2 separate regions of the Homo sapiens genome follow, and region 1 is linked to region 2. Evidence: promoter capture Hi-C in 16 types of primary human blood cells and fetal thymus (Javierre and others, 2016). All regions are on one chromosome and are shown on one strand. The core of a region is centred on a gene start or on the middle of the fragment in contact, and the rest is flanking DNA. Distances in the headings are between cores, read along the strand shown.

What was found. The method cuts DNA at HindIII sites, captures the fragments that hold promoters and counts their contacts. A CHiCAGO score of 5 or more calls a contact.
Region 1: a contact is called between a fragment that was not itself captured here and the fragment with the promoter of TLR10 in region 2, in 1 of 17 cell types (total CD8 T cells). The highest score is 5.5, in total CD8 T cells.

The regions. Positions count from the first base shown.
Region 1 is chr4:38,209,816-38,212,515 of GRCh38, reverse strand. No RefSeq gene overlaps it. Among named protein-coding and RNA genes, the nearest start is that of LINC02513, 160 kb to the left of the region's middle. The HindIII fragment of the contact is 5,169 bases long and covers 1-2,700 here.
Region 2 is chr4:38,781,648-38,784,347 of GRCh38, reverse strand. It overlaps TLR10 (toll like receptor 10), which reads left to right and starts at 1,358. Exons shown (of 4, transcript NM_030956.4): 1 at 1,358-1,427. RefSeq lists enhancers at 2,037-2,206, 2,269-2,478. The HindIII fragment of the contact is 660 bases long and covers 1,326-1,985 here.

The DNA.
Region 1 (2,700 bases), core at 17-2,516, 570 kb after region 2:
TCTCATGCCTCGACCTCCCGAGTAGCTGGAATTACAGCTGTTTACCACCATGGGTGGCTAATTTTTGTATTTTTAGTAGACACAGGGTTTCACCATGTTGGCTAGGCTGGTCTCGAACTCCTGACCTCAAGTGATTCGCCCGCCTCGGCCTCCCAAAGTGCTGGGATTACAAGCATGAGCCAACGCGCCCAGCCAGGTCTTTTCTGTGTAGATTCCTAGGGCCTCTTTAGCATCTAATGTTACATGACCCTAAGAGCATGCCTGGTTGTTCTGCTGCCCTGGAACATTCTGAGATGCTTCCACAATCCTCCCTTCAGTTCTCCTGAATGCTCTTGGAGCTTTGTTTTTGGGTGCCCTAGCCTCAGGCTTTGCTGCAGTTCTGGGAACTGATCACCTCATCTTGAGGGGATAAACTTTTTGGAGCTGGGATTTCCCTCACAGAGATAGGGTTCCCCTAATTCTCATTTCTTGGGCTTAGAGTAAGTAAAAGGGTGAATTGGATATTGAAAGTCCGGCTGGCAGATCAGTCTCACCTCTTGGAATGTCCTATTGGCCGGGTCTCTAGGCAAGTCTCCTCCCACCCAAAACACAGTTTTTGGGTCTAGAGTGTACCTCTTATTCCTTATCTGAAATGGGAGGATTTCTGGGGTGTAAGACTCTTTGCCATCCCATCCATCCACCTTCTTAGATGTCAGGGTTCCTGGCCTTTTTCTACTTCATTTCTCACAAGTCACTACTCCTGCCCAAAATACTGGCCTCTGGTTCTCAAAACCATCTGGCTCACCACTGGAAACCAGCCAGCCAACGTCTGGCACGTCTGAGCAGCCTCAATTCCTCAGATTCCTCTCCTACTTGGTTCCTGAGGCACTCAAAGGCCTTCCTCTGGCCAACATCTCTTGGCCATTTACCCCTGTTTATCTTACGGTCAGATTGGCAAGAATCTTAAGTCCCTCCCCTGCCCACTCGTGCAGTCTCATCAGGCTTAGGGGACCTAGGAAAGCCCCAGATCAGCTTATCAAGGACCGCCAGGAGTTAGATCCACTGCAGAAATGAACACTAAACAAGAGGACCAAATCCTGTACCCTGTCCACATATTCAGACTCCCTGACCAAGCTACCATCAGGCCAAAAGTAAAAGCTGTCACAGTATGTGCTAAATCAACAGAACATAAGAGGAAGCAAAGGAAATAGAAACATATTTTCTTTTTTTTTTTCTGAGACAAAGTTTCACTCTGTCACCCAGGCTGGAGTGCAGTGGCGCAATCTCGGCTCACTGCAACCTCTGCCACCCACGTTCAAGCTATTCTCCTGCCTCAGCCTCCCATGTAGCTGGGATTTCAGGCACGTGCCACCACACCCAGCTAATGTTTGTATTTTTAGTAGAGACGGGGGTTTCACCATGTTAGCCAGGCTGGTCTCAAATCCTGACCTCGTGATCGTCCCACCTAGGCCTCCCAAAATGCTGGGATTATAAGCATGAGCCACTGCACCCAGCCTAGGAACATATTTTTAAAGTGAGCCCTTGCACATTCTAACGGCCCCTCTCAGCATCCACTCTTATTTACTTAGTCAGCAAATGTGGCCCTGTGAGGGATTTGGCTGGCCAAACACAGCCTCTGCCTTCTCAACAGCTCTCCTCTGTCTAGCATAGTCCTTGCTTGAGTGGAACAGTTTTTCAAAACGTTCTGCACTTCTCCTGGTGAGCTGCGGACTGAGAGTGGCTGCTATGGGTTTCTGCCCAATGGTTTTTTGCTTAAACAACCTATGCTTTTACAAACACACCCTGACCGCTCTGAAGTCGTTTCTGTCCTGGATCTGTATCCCAAGCCACTGTATTGTTTTCATTTCCTGTGCTTCTTAACTTCCTTGTCATAATATTATCTTACATTCATGGCGCCACTAGTCCGCAGGCAGGGTGATATACCACCATTTGGCATCAGTAGAAGTTGTTTCATCCAACTTCAATCGTGGTCACTCTGAGGCGCCCTGCAGTGGCTATTTAGCAAGTCAGGAGTGACTTTCACAGGAATGCAAGGCATGACTTTAGGAATGGTGCATATTTTTCAGATGGGCTGTTCCCTGTTGAAATTGGTTTGTGAAGAATCCTGTGTGCCCAGCAAGGATTTAGAAAGAGAGATGTATACCATGCTGTAGTGTAGACAGTGTATATGGAGTCCTGAACCTCTCTTTCACCTGGCTTTCAAAAGTCAGGTAAGGCCGGCTGGACGCAGTGGCTCACATCTATAATTCCAATGCTTTGGGAGGCTGAAGTGGGAGGACGGCTTGGGGCCAGGTGTTCTGGACCACCCCTGGGCAACATGGGGAGACTTCGTCTCTACAAAAAATTTAAAAGTTAGCCATGCAAAGTGGTGTGCGTCTGTAGTCCCAGCTACGCAGGAGGCTGAGGTGGGAGGATCACTTGAGCCCAGGAGTTCGAGGCTGCAGTGTGCTGTGATCGTGCCACTGCACTCCAGCCTGAGCAACAGAGTGAGACCCTGTCTATTAAAAAAAAAAAAAAAAAAAAAGTCAGGTAAGCTATCAAAACCCCAAGAGTGCACTGCCACAGGGCTGAGCCCACCCAAGACTCCTCCTACCCCGCACAGATAAACTGCCCACTCAGCTGCTTCCACTCAGTGACCAGGAAACCCTAATCCCAATTGTTGCAACAGACTCACAGCCTCCCTGTGGCGCTCAATACACA
Region 2 (2,700 bases), core at 109-2,608:
GCGACTGTAAATACAGATGAAGCTTCATTTGCTTACCCACCACTCACCTCCTGCTGTGTGGCTCGGTTCCTAACAGGCCATGAACTGGTACCTGTCTGTGGCCCAGGGGTTGGGGACCACTGCTCTAGATAACTCCTTTCCACCCTCTTCCTGCCTGATTGCTGAAATTATGGAGTCACCATTCCTACTCCTGCCCATCATCACATGACTGCCCCACCCAACTGATGAAAGGGATAACCGACCTGCACCTTGAAGAAAAGCATCATCAAAGAGCTCTAAGATGCTGTGGAAAACCAGTATGGTAGTTCTGCAAAAAATTAAACAGAATGGTCATACGATCCGTGAATTCCACTTCTAGGTATAGACTCAAAAGAATGTTAAGTACCAACTTAAATAGATATTTGTGCACCACGTTCACAGCAGCATTATTCACAAGAGCCAAAAGGTGAAAACTACCCAAATGTCCATTGATGGATGAATGAATGAACAAAATGTGGGACGTACATACAACAAAATAGTATTCAGCCTTAAAAAAGGAAGGAAAGATTCTATTATTCTATGTAATAATAATAGAAATGATATGGATGAACCTTAAAGACATTATGCTCAATGAAATAAGCCAGTCACAAAAAACCAAATATGGTATAACTCCACGGACATGAGGTACCTAGAGTAGTCAAATTCACACAGACAGAAAGTAGAATTATAGTTTCCAGGGTCTGAGGGAAGGGGAAAATGGGAAATTATTTTTTAATGGCATAGAATTTCAGTTTGGGATGACGAAAAATCTTTGGAGATGGGCAGTGGTGGTGGTTGCACAACAGTGTGAATGTACTTAATTAATGCCACTAAATTGTACATTTAAAAATGCTTAAGGTCAGGCGCGGTGGCTCACACCGTAATCCTAGCACTTTGGGAGGCCGAGACAGGCAGATCACTTGAGCTCAGGAGTTCAAGACCAGCCTGGGCAACTGGCGAAACCCCGTCTCTACAAAAAATACAAAAAACTTAGCCAGGCCAGTTGGTGAGCGCCTGTAGTCCCAGACATTTGCGGGACTGAGAAGCCCAGCCTCTTGCGGGCTTTAGCGCAAGAGGTCAAGGCTGCAGTGAGCAGTGATCACACCACTGCACTCCAGCCTGGGTGACAAAGTGAGACCCTACCTCAAAAAAAATAAAAATAAAAATAAAAATAGAAAGATGGTGAGCATGATAACTCCTATGTTATGTGTATTTGACCACAATTTAAAAAAGTGCTAAGATTATAATGAATATATATAACATGCAATACCAGTAGCATGCAGAAGAGGGCGGATGGGGTTTAAGCTTTACAGAAAACCTCGATTCAATTCCCTCCTGCAGCCAATTCTGACCGTGTCAACGAATCATCCACGCACCTGCAGCTCTGCTGAGAGAGTGCAAGCCGTGGGGTAAGAACCTTAGCTTTGTTTGTTGTAACTCTCATTAAAAAGATATAAGGGCTGCATGGGTATTTTCTAAAAAGGAGATAATTTGAGCTAATATTGAGGGGAGGGAAGTAGGGTTATTTAGATTTTTAGTATTTACTATTTTGTCTAGATTAATGATTAGTGACCTTGGGGCTATTGATCTGAGGAATTTCTTGCAGATGCTTGAGAGCGTGGGTTTCTTTTCACTGATTGCGGATCAAACCTGGTCAGCTCTTCTATTCAGATTGAACGGTCCTATGCACTGTGGCAAGTTTTTTCTAGCTCTTATTTCCCCACAGCGTATGTTAACCTCTGCTGGATGAAACCTTTGGCTATTTAAGGCATATTTGTTGCTCCTTTACCCCGTTGAAAAGTTCTGCATTTGTGTTACCTGTTTAAAAGTAGGGGCAGATCTGATGGATCTTGTACAATGCAGTTCTTATTCCGTTTCCTTCAGAAGTGGACAAAGAGGGCCATATGTGGTTGCTGTAAAGAAGAGGATGGTTAACAACCTGTGAGCATTTGGTTTCTTGATAAGCTTTCTCCCAGACCACCTACACTGAGCTATTAATTAGGAATAGGATGCACTTCGAGTTTTATTTCAATTCTTGTGAACTTATAACTTTCCTAAGAATATATTTATACATGTAGGCAAAGTCTCTTGAACTTTGTGGCACCTAGCAGAGTGTCCCACAGCAGCTGCATGAAGCTTCATAGACAGGGGCATGGGGTGAGAAAGGAGGAAGTGGCCGCCATGGCAGCTGGTCAGATCAATGGATTCAACCTCAGTGATTCGGTCCTTAGGATGTCGTTACATCTTAAGCCACCTCATTTCAAGGTTTGAGGTGCCTTGCATTTGGGTTTAGTTACCATCCAGAAGGAACCAGACAGGTCTGGGTTCAAATCTCTGCTTCTTCAGTTGGTCATCTTGGGCAAGTTACTTTACCTCTGGGCTTTAGCTCCTCCATCTGTAAAATATGAATAATAATGGCCGCCATTTTGTTGAGTCATTGAGGGATTAAACAAGGTAATGGACATAAAACACTTAGCTCCATGTCAGACACGTAGGAAATACTGAAAAGAAGTCATTCTTACTCTTATGTTGCAAAGATCATTCAACATTCAATAGGTTCTTAATCTCTTTTCTATTTCTTTATATCATTGGGAAAAGATAAATTAGATGATTAAATATTCTTTGGTAAAACACTAGTTGTCATTTGATGATGTCTTTTGACTTGGACTTTTAAATTATAAG